Linked DNA regions of Homo sapiens: regions 1, 3 and 4 are each linked to region 2. The links are contacts of gene promoters, found by promoter capture Hi-C in blood cells and fetal thymus (Javierre and others, 2016). All regions are on one chromosome and are shown on one strand. Each heading gives the region's core, a stretch centred on a gene start or on the middle of the fragment in contact. The rest is flanking DNA. Distances are from core to core; before and after follow the strand shown. Region 1 has its middle 6.3 kb from the start of MIR5091. Region 2 holds the start of LAP3 (leucine aminopeptidase 3). Region 3 overlaps PACRGL (parkin coregulated like). Region 4 overlaps BOD1L1 (biorientation of chromosomes in cell division 1 like 1).

Region 1 (2,700 bases), core at 167-2,666, 3.9 Mb after region 2:
AATCAGAGGAGAAATGAATGAGATCATCTTAATGGCTGGCACCCAATAGCAAATGCATGCTCTCCAGAGACAGTGCCAATTCTAGACACTTTGAATTCCTTCCTTTCATACATGCATGCCAACCACCTCTTACTCTTAAAACACAAAACAAAACAAAAAAAAAAACAACTCTTTCTTCAAATGTAGAATACAATCTTTATTTAGGTATACAAATTTTTATTTATATTTAAATAAATCCCTCCCAGAATTTCTACCCAGATGACCTGGATTAGATTTGAGGTATTCAGATAATACTACATCATTTCTAGAGACCTCCCTCCAATTTCTGCTTTTCCTAATTTTATTCCTGGAGGTGTGACTTTCAGTTTTCAGAATACCATGTACCATCTAGAATACTCAGGAAACACACACACACACAGACACACACATGTTAGGGCTATTTTTAAAATAAGAACAATTTTCACAAAGCCTAAATGGAAAATGCTAAATGCAAAGCTTCTTTCCATCTTTATAAGCATATAAAAGATACCTTGCATTTCAAGCCATCTGCAATATTGACATCTCAATTTTCAAAATAGCCAGCAATTCAGTAGCATTAATAGGCACAGGCTACCTAACTTCATAATAAATCTTACTTTTATAAATCTGATTGCTATCACTACCAGGAGTTTAAACCTTATGAGCAAAGAAATGTATAAAAATTAATGGTACTTGCATAAAAGGAGTATCATCTTACAAAAAAAAATGTTCAAACTAGAAAGTACGGTTTCAGTAAAACTTTGTTTATAAAAACAGGTAGACTGGATTAGGCCTGTGGGCCGTGATTTGTCTAGTCCAGTGTTTCTCATATAGTGTTCTATCAGCATTTGTTAAATGCATTTGTTAACAATGGAAACTCTCAGGCTCTGTCCCAGACCTATCAAATCAGGGACTCAGGATGGCGTGCCTAGTACTCTATTTTAACAAGTCCTCTAGGAGATTTTGGTGTAGGCTAAAATTTGAGAACCACTATTAGTCTTCCAGATTACCCACAGAGGAATCTCCCATCCCATAAAGTATTAATAACTAATGTGACTGATAGGTCCAACTTCACCAAATACCCCCCACCACTCTATTTCCCTCCTCTTCTGAAGTTCCTACTCCAATATCCCAGGGGCTTATGTATCCCAATCCTCGTCTCAGTTGACATTACTCCTGTCTTGCTGCCCCAGACACATCCTCCTTTTTCCCACCAACTAGAACTTGGCCACTCTCTTGAATTCTGCAGCTCCTCAAGGTAATATATTCTCACAAAGCCACCATTTCCAAAGCACCCCTACCCTACAACACTCCCAGACTGGCAGGGAGCTGAAGTTTCCAGTCTATGCCAAATGTCCCAGAATCACCCTTCGTCCTCTCTGCCTTACTGTCCCCCTGTACCACTCCACTTCCATGCCCTGACCCTAGGGCAAGTGACAATTCTTTCAAGGGAAAAATCAGTACCCGCTTTTCACATTAACATTGTATAACACTCTGCAGCCCCACCATCATGGTAGTCCTGCCTTATTTGAGGTTTTGCTTTCTGCAGTTTCAGTTACTCATGGTCAACTGTGGTCTGAAAATATTAAATGGAAAATTCCAGAAACAATGAATACATTTTAAGTGTTGCACCATTCTGACAAACATGCTGAAATCTTGCACCATACCATGCCATCCCTTTGTCCAGCATATCCACTCTGTGTATGTTAGCTGCCTGTTAAGTCACTTAGCAGCCATCTTGGTTATCAGATCAGAAAAAAATATAATATACACAGTATAGACTTTTGGGGTTTTTGTTGTTGTTTTTGTTTTTGAGATGGAGTCTGACTCTATCACCCAGGCTGGAGTGCAGTGGCACGATCTCAGCTCACTGCAACCGCCGGCTTCCGGATTCAAGCAATTCTCCTGCCTTAGCCTCCCAAGTAGCTGGGATTATAGGCACGTGACACCATACCCGGTTAACTTTGTATTTTTAGTAGAGATGGAGTTTCACCATGTTGCCCAGGCTGGTCTTGAACTCCTGCCTTCAGGTGATCCACCTGCCTCACCCTCCCAAAGTGCTGGGATTACAGGTGTGAGCCACTGAGCCCAGCCCATGGTATAGTTTGTTCCTCCATGGTTTCAAGCATCCTCTAGGGGTCTTGGAACATATCCCCCATGGATAACAGGGCACTACTATACTGCAACAAAAATAGAATATGTGTGACCATGCAGCTTGCATTGGAAAGACAAATAATATTAACACATGTCCTCTCCCCCTCCTCCGATGTTTTCCGTTATCACTGAAAAACGAACTTTCAAAGTTTCTACTAAGCTTTGGGTTGATGGAGATTTAGGAAATATTGATTTCCCTTTGATTATGAAAAGCCTAGTCGGGAATGGAGATGCCAAAGAGTGGGGATCCCATGGGGGTACAAGGGGAAGAAAATAAGGAAACAACTCTGACGAATAATCAGATGGGATCCCTGGTGTTAGGAGATCAATGTTTGACTTTCACTGGACAAGCTCACAGAAGCAGTCTGGAGGATTGGGTAGGGGTGGGGGACAGGCTGGACTGTAGAAAGGAAAAGAAATTCCTGACAAAAACCATTTGTCAGGAATCTGGTGCCTAACCATGCACATGGCTACCAGTAACAGGGGCCATCATCACCTATTGTTGCTTCCCTAATTCGCAAACTATAA
Region 2 (2,700 bases), core at 1-2,500:
CACCAAAGAAAACGGCCTTCCTTGGCATTGGTAACTCTGCCAGGTTCTAACTTCCCTAAGATTGTTCACTCCCCGGGAATCAATGGAGCCAACTGAGCAACTGTTATCTGGGTAGGCTGTGGCACAGTACTGGAGATAGCACTGGTCAGGCGACTGGTCCCTCCACCACTGAGATACCTGCAGGAGACTGGAGCTCAAGCTCCCCCTAGAACGTTCTTCTGCAGGGACAGTCATCTCTTTCTGGTGCTTAGGCATGACTCCCAAGCTTGTGCTGGTTCCGAGAGCCATTCCCTTTGCAGATCCTTCACATCTGAAGAGCGACCTTCGTAATTTTTTGGAGTTCACTTTTCTTCTGGAAGATGCTCTTAATTCTGGGAAACGTGGGTCTCTCCCCAAAGCCCTTTTCTCTAGAGAGGCATGCTTTTCCTCTAGAAACCCTTCCAAGCTACTTAACTCCCTGACCTTTCACTTCCGCGGGGGAAGGAGCCCTGTGACTCTGGGACCTCAGAAACCCTTTCACCTTGGCAAACTCGGGCTTCCTCCAAGCTCGGATGGGAGCCCCACCGCCGCGTCTTTCCCCGGGTTACTGCCAGGACCGCGGGTGACGACTGGAGCAAGTGCGCGGCCGAGTGGAGCCGGGTAAAGGGCGGCTACAACCATCACCCCCTAGCCCCGAGCAGGGGAATCGCGCCCTCAATACGACCGCTGGGGTCCTCAGCGGCCTAGGCCGATCCCCGCAAGGAGAGAATTTTTCTTTTAAACTGATTTTTGCAACTTGGCTTGGGCGCCCAGGACACCGCGGCTTCGACCAGCCCCGCAGCCCCAGTAGCCCACGGGCAGGGCCCCAGCGGCGGACCATGAGCGAGCCGCCGCCTCTCACCTTCGTCATGTCTGCGGTGGAGAGACTCCGGCTCCCGAAACGTCTCACGGCCAGACGTCGGACGACTACTCGCCCCGCAGCCGGAAGAGGCAGCAAGAACATCTTGTCGGCTCGGCCCCTCGCACCGCCCTCCAGCGAGCACGTGGAGAGCGGTGGGCGGGCGCGCCTTGGGGCGGGGCTTTCGGGGCGCAGACGGCGTGCGCGCGGACTGGCTCGGGCGCCGGGCGAGCGGACGTGCGTCTAGGGGGCGGGACGGATGGGCAGCACCGGCCGACTGGACCGCTGGGATCAAACCGCGGTTGTGGAGGGGACTCAAGGGTGCGCCCGCATTCGTGTGCGCCCGCATTCGTGTGCGCCCGCATTCGTGTGCGCCCGCGCATGCGGGCGGGGGCGAAAAGGCGGGGCTTCCGGACGCGGTTGACAGTCCCGGGAGCAACGCGAAGTAGAGGGGCGGGACCGATATGGTGACGTCACACGATGGGTGGGGCGGAGGCGGGGCGAGTTCTGCAAGCGGGCGTGGGCGGAGCGCTGGGCAACTCCCGGGAAATAGAAACTGAGTGCCAGAGCTTGTTGTCAAGGTTGCTGAATAGACGACTGCATAGTGAAGACACTCCCACTGAGTTTTCGTTTGTTTGTTTGGTTTTTTTGAGTCGGAGTCTCGCTCTGTCACCCAGGTTGGAGTGCAATGGAGCGATCTCGGCTCACTGCAACCTCCCGCTGCTTAGTTGAAACGATTCTCCTGCCTCGTCCTCCCGAGTAGCTGGGATTAGGGGCGCCCGCCACCACGCCCAGCTAATCTTTGTGTTTTTTTGTTGTTTTTTTGGATTTTTTTTTTGAGGCGGAGTCTCGCTCTTGTAGCCCTGGCTGGAGTGCAGTGGCGCAATCTCGGCTCACTGCAACCTCCGCCTTTCGGGTTCAACAGATTCTCCTGCCTCAGCCTCCCGAGTAGTTGGGACTACAGGCGCCCACCACCACACCTGGCTAATCTTTGTATTTTTAGTAGAGACAGTGTTTGGCCATGTTAGCCAGGCTGGCTTTGAACTCCTGACCTCTGGTGATACACCCGCCTCAGCCTGCCAAAGTGCTGGGATTACTTACAGGCGTGAGCCACCGTGCCCGGCAACTCTTTGTATTTTTAGTAGAGACGAGGTTTCACCATGTTGTCCAGGCTGGTCTCGAAGTCCTGACCTCGTGATCCACTTGCCTCGGCCTCGCTAAGTGCTGGGATTACAGGCGTGAGCCACCGCACCTGGCCTGAGTTATTTTTATTCGTGTCCTTTCATCTGTTCCACAGGTGCAACGGTGTAAATACTGTTTTTGAAAATGATGTAACACTATTAGGTTCGTTGACTCGTGCACATAGCAAGTCAATACGCCCAGACACCAGGGTTGCAGCAGAGAAAGAGGTGTAATCGTGGAGTCGCCAAAGGAGGAGATGGGAGGAAACCTCAAATCCATCTCCCTGAGGAATTTGGGGTCAAGGTTTTTAAGGGTTTTGGAGAGGGCTATAGTGTGGAGATCGTTGATTGAAGAGTGCAGGGTGAAGTCATGGGACAGGGCGTTGAAGAACCTGTATTCTTAAGCTGACCCCATTCCTCTCTGGGGATCTTCAAACTGGTAGCTGGAATTCAAGGTCTGAAAAATATCTTAAGCGATCCTTAAACAGAAAGCTTATGATTCTAATGTCAGAGATCCTGTCTATAGGAACAATGGGAATGCAAATGGTCAGTATGTAGTGCTAGGTGACTTTTAGCAACAAGGAAGTGGGCCAAAGTACAGCCTGATTAATGCTTAATTATAACTATATTTCTGCCTAGAAC
Region 3 (2,700 bases), core at 102-2,601, 3.1 Mb before region 2:
AAAAGCTCTGTACCTGTTGCTCTGTTTTTCAACTGTGTACCTCCAGAGCCCTCTGATTTCTGCATTGCTTCCCTTTCACTCCTGCAGTTTAAAAAAAAAAAAGTTGATTTCAAAATTTGTTTGGAGGGGCATTTGTTATCAATAAAAAGACAAAACCAGAACAGAGTATACAATACAGTAAAAGACACACAAAAAAGTTGATATGGAGCAAAATACTGGAAAAGACTAATGAGAAAACATGAAATTATGTCAACTTCAATAGTATCAATAACAGCAAAATAATCATCTCCAAGAAATGATGTACAAAAGTCAACTTTTTTTCCATTCAAATTGTCAAAATAAACTGTTAGAAACTCACTTCCAATTCTCTGACCACATTAGAAAACACAGACTAGATTTCTGAAAGGAGTGGTTGGTACATTCCCTGTCATCTTCTCCATCTTCTCTGGCCTCTGTATTTCCAAAGCTCCAAATGTTAACATGTGCACATCAAGCTCTACTTTTCCAGTGACATAATGAACTCTCCTACCCAATGTATCACAAGCTCCTTAAACTGAATGTAACTAAAACTGAGGTTGTCACACTGAAGTTATTATGAACCCCTTGTTAACCCAGGGTACCACCAGTTTTCTGGTCCTCAGACTGAAAAACTTAGAATCACCATTGTCTCCTTTTCCTTCATTTCCTACACTCAATGCTACACGTGATGAGAAAGAAAGAGCTTTGGGCTCAAATATGGGTCTGCATCTCAGTTCTACCAATTATGAAATTTATGAATTTAGGCAGATTATTTAACCTCCCTAAACCTCGACTTCCTGACCTGTTTAAAGAGGGAAATAAAAGCCTGTCAAGGTTTTCTGGAGGTGCAAATGAAATTATCTCTCAAGTTACTCACCCAGGGAATACTGGTTCACTTTTCCCTTACACAGTTGCTTTTTTTCTGCTAATGGAGGACTCTAGTTCATACCCCAAGGTTTCCAGCTAATCCAATCAATTTCTACAATTGTATCTCTAGCAAGAAATACACACACACAAACACACACACACACACACACACACACACACACACTCATATACCCAAGTGCCTACTGGTATTTTTAGGCCAAGCTTCATTCCCAACTTCCATGAAGCCTTTCCTCATCTTGGTTTCTCAAATGTGTATTTCTATGGCATTGATTTCTATCCTGTGTCCTTATTTCTACTTGATTACTCTGTTCCCTCACTTCCACGACAATCTAGTTATTCTATTAGCACACGTCTCATTTTAATGCCTTTAATAATGACTGCCTCTCAAGTATAGTGTAAGATCTTCCCTTAGGACAACACAGGTAAAGTCCTCTTCCACCTCCAAATGACACTTTTTCAAATATTTGATGGCATTAACTCTTAACTCCTTCATTTTTTCTTCTTCAGGATAAACACTGATACTTTTTAAAATGATTCCTCACATGAAATGCTTTTAATCCACTTAACAAGTTAGAAATCCTCAAAAGGAGGACAAAGCTCCATGTTATAAAATTTAGCCAGATATCTCAAACATGATGTACCAGCTTAAAGTCTGATACCATGTAAAGATAACCTAAATGTAAGCTTGCTTCTGCACACTGAATAATTTCAATTTCCTTGATTTAGTACATTGATCTCATTTATCTCATCCCACTACCAGCAGATGACTTACTTCCCAGTATCACACTTCACCTCCATTCCCAGGGCCATTTTCTAATACTACGGTAATTAAAATCTCATTAAAGTTGTCAGATAATAGTCTAAAATAAGCTGAGAGAAGCTTTAAATATGTTAACCTACTATTGTACTTCTGTGATCATTCAACAAGTATTTAATATTGTGCCTGACTTCTGTTTTGAGAAGCTCCTGGAGGGGGAACAACACAAGTTTCTATTGAAAAAAAAAATGCATCAGTTTCCTCAACTCTATAATTGGGCATAATTACAGGAACTACTTTAAGTGTTGATGAAGACTAGTAAGAATATATGTAAAACAACATTTCCATAATGGGAGGCATGCAGTAAGGGCCACATGAGTCTTAGCTATTATTATAATTTTCTTTACAATGGTACAAAGTGTTCTTCAGTATTACTATTACTAATAGTGAAACCACATGTTTTGTCATTTTTAAAAAATCTGGCTTAACATCTTGGGCTACATCAATTTGAAGACCAGCTGAGGTCCAATTTCTCTTGATCATCAATTGTTAACAGCTGCAACAGATAAAAGCGATGCACAGCAAAGACGCGTACCCACAAACATAACAAGGGCACAGGCAGCCATATCAAATTATGATGCACATTTTTCAATACTACCTACCAATTCAGTGGAAGTTTTGGATGGAATTTTATGGCTAAATTTCTATCTTCCTTCACGTCAAAAAGTTGTTCCTGTAACAAACTAATGGGGAGGTGTTGCATTATATTTTGAATGAGTTCAAAAAGTCACCAAAACTCATTTGAAAAAGTTTTAAACATGGTAGAAAATCGAGCTTCTACAGTTTATGAGTATACAGGACAACTTTTATGTACAATATATAATTTTCAGCATTAAACATACAGTAATGCAAACACGTCTACATCCCCTTTCAAAATCCTGTATTAGAGAATTTCCTTCCAAAACAATTGCTTTTTCACTTAAAATTTTTATCCTTTACCTTAACGACAAATTACAGTTGGCTCTCCGTATATGCGG
Region 4 (2,700 bases), core at 148-2,647, 4.0 Mb after region 2:
TGTATTTTTTTGTAGAGACAGGGTCTCATTATGTTGCCCAGACTGGTCTCCAAATCCTAGGCTCAAGGGATCTTCCCTCCTTGGCTTCTGAAAGTGCTGGGATTATAGGCATGGGCCACCTCACCTGGCCACTACTTGTTCTTGAATGTAAATATTTGCAAAGACAAGAAAGCCTTCTACCCTTGCTATACCCCTCAAAAAAAGGGTGACTAAGTTATTTAGAGATCATCCAGTCTCCCTGACTTGACAAGTATTTATGTTCAAGTACATCTTTGAGAATGAAGTGTAGCTTTTTTTTTTTTTAACAGTTAAACAAATCTGTTTTATACCTGCCACCTCTTAATTTCCTTTTGTCCCATAGGAACCTCTCGAAAGCCTATCTAGTCTGATAGTTTCAACCAACAGGAAGCCCCACAAATCAAAATTCACACCCTGACTAAAAGACAAACCTATTTAGCCACAGGTAATACTAGAAACCAGAAGCCTGGGGGCTCAGACAGTGTCTCCTTGTGCATAAGAGAAGAGGGAAATTCACAATAGCTTTGTTGTCTACATTTTAAAGGATGTCTGAGGAACCTGTAAAAGAGTCCAGGTGAGATCAAAAGATGCCATTAGAAGGCTGCATAATAATACCTGGTGGGAAAAGGTCAAAGCTGTTTCTAGAAAAAGTAGAAACAAAAAAGATCTGTTGGGTGACAGGCCCGCTGCCTGTAGTTTCCACAAAGGCTTTCAAAGAGAACAATGACCAAAATAGCTTAGGACTAGGGGATAAGGGAGTGGAGGTAGGGTAGAGCACCCCTTCACACACATTTATACAGAGCCCTACTGATTACTTTCATTCAGTGATTTGCATAGCCACCTCCCTGTTCACAAATGATTGCATTGCTTTAAAAGCATGTTTTTTTGGGAGTCTGGCATTTTTTTTCTTCATATATTGACACTCAGATTGAAGGCAAACTTCTTAGAATTGCATTTACTTTTATAGCGTATAAAATCTATAAGGTAAGGGAGCAGTCATTCTTTTATTTAAGGGAACTAAGTCTTACACATGTGAAAATTAAGCACTTAAAATTATTGCTGTACCAGTAAGATATTGTGATCACAAAATCATGTTTGGTGCGAGGTCAGGGGTTCTTGTGGCTGTGTCAGTGATTAAATGCTGGAGCAATTTGCCTATGAGTAATGAGGAATCTCTTTTTCTGGAGACATTTTGAAAGAGGGAAGACAGCTGCCTTCTCTTGGATGATACTGATAATAACATTTTAAAGCTTCCTTAAAGAGATTATTTAGTTATGTTCAATCTGAAGGTATAGGGGTGGACTAGCCCCTGTAAATAAATATAATTTCAAACAGTTTTTTGTACGTATGCTTTGAGACATACTCACTTGACTCCATTAGGTTGAGCTATCTGCACTTGCCATTTTTGTAAGACAAAAATGGTCTAATACCAGTAATTTCAGATGGTTCAACTTAATAGCTGATCTGCTGACTCAGTAGGAGGGAAAATTTTATTCTACTTAAGCTTTTATTTGTACAACAGAATCTGAAAATCCTAGGTAACTGAATAACGAACTTAGCTAAACATAATTTGAAAGGAAGACAAGGAAGTAACTTTAACCAGAAAAACGCCAGCTGTTGGCATTTTGGCTTTGCCGTTGACCTAGGGCTGTAGCTTCTCCCCACTTGGGTGAGGCAGTTATGGCCGCTAAGTGCAGTATGATCATTGGTACTGGACTCCATTTTTCTGTAAGATTAGAGCTGACCTCTGTGTGAGAAAGGACTAAAGCAGAAGTGTTTTGTTTGTTTGCAAAACAAGAGGCTGGAACATAGGCAAACAGAGAAAGAGACTGAAGCAAAAATTTGGGAGTGGATAGTTTAATTTTTTTTTGGTACTTTTTTTTCTATTTTCTATTTTTTTTTTTTTTTTTGAGACGGAGTTCGCTCTGTCGCCAGGGTGGAGTGCAGTGGTGCCATCTCAGCTCACTGCAATCTCTGCCTCCTGGATTCCAGCAATTCTCCTGCCTCAGCCTCCCAAGTAGCTGGGATTACAGGCACGTGCCACCACACCCAGCTAATTTTTGTATTTTTAGGAGAGATGAGGTTTCACCATGTTGGCCAGGATGGTCTCGATCTCCTGACCTTGTGATCTGCCCGCCTTGGCCTCCCAGAGTGCTGGGATTACAGGCGTGAGCCACCATGCCCGGTCCTTTTTGTACCTTTTTACTTGTACCCTAAAACCTTTTTTAAGATTGCTTTTTCTTATTTCTTTTCTACCTACTACATTTTAAATACACCTCTAAGATGTAACAGTGTTTGCAAGATTTGCATTTTTTTTTAATCTTTAAAAAGCAGGTAACCTACTTTGTGCTGAGTTGGCTCATTTTTCTCTATGGCCCACATAAGTAGAATTATAGTTTCACAAGGCGACAAGGTGCTTCCAGAAATGAAAAACTAATCCATCCTGCACTCCAGATGGAAGTGCACTCAAAAATAGCATTTGTAAAGTGTAAGGAAAGATGGCTCCTCATCCATTCCATAGAGAGCAGTTGAGGCTTAGAAGCTAAAAATGACGAGCACTTTGATCTTCCAGCACTATCCTGACTACCTTGACTCCTCCACTTCTTTTTTAGGAAGAAACAAGATTTAAGTGTGTTTCTTAAAATAAATTCACGTTCTCTTATTTTACTCAGATGCCTTTGT

Evidence for each region. Contacts are between HindIII fragments. The CHiCAGO score rates a contact against its expected background, and 5 or more counts as called.
Region 1: a contact is called between a fragment that was not itself captured here and the fragment with the promoter of LAP3 in region 2, in 1 of 17 cell types (non-activated CD4 T cells). The highest score is 7.0, in non-activated CD4 T cells.
Region 3: a contact is called between a fragment that was not itself captured here and the fragment with the promoter of LAP3 in region 2, in 4 of 17 cell types (naive B cells, total B cells, naive CD8 T cells and 1 more). The highest score is 26.0, in naive B cells.
Region 4: a contact is called between a fragment that was not itself captured here and the fragment with the promoter of LAP3 in region 2, in 1 of 17 cell types (total B cells). The highest score is 9.1, in total B cells.

Annotation. Positions count from the first base shown.
Region 1 is chr4:13,632,829-13,635,528 of GRCh38, reverse strand. No RefSeq gene overlaps it. Among named protein-coding and RNA genes, the nearest start is that of MIR5091, 6.3 kb to the right of the region's middle. The HindIII fragment of the contact is 1,837 bases long and covers 498-2,334 here.
Region 2 is chr4:17,575,748-17,578,447 of GRCh38, reverse strand. It overlaps LAP3 (leucine aminopeptidase 3), which reads right to left and starts at 1,250. Exons shown (of 13, transcript NM_015907.3): 1 at 881-1,250. The coding sequence starts at 982. RefSeq lists enhancers at 703-902, 1,243-1,602 and a silencer at 973-1,182. The HindIII fragment of the contact is 2,285 bases long and covers 268-2,552 here.
Region 3 is chr4:20,701,847-20,704,546 of GRCh38, reverse strand. PACRGL (parkin coregulated like) reads right to left here. Exons shown (of 9, transcript NM_001258345.3): 2 at 14-81. The coding sequence starts at 65. Among named protein-coding and RNA genes, the nearest start is that of PACRGL, 2.7 kb to the right of the region's middle. The HindIII fragment of the contact is 483 bases long and covers 1,110-1,592 here.
Region 4 is chr4:13,616,471-13,619,170 of GRCh38, reverse strand. All of the region lies in intron 2 of BOD1L1 (biorientation of chromosomes in cell division 1 like 1), which reads left to right. Among named protein-coding and RNA genes, the nearest start is that of BOD1L1, 9.9 kb to the left of the region's middle. The HindIII fragment of the contact is 254 bases long and covers 1,271-1,524 here.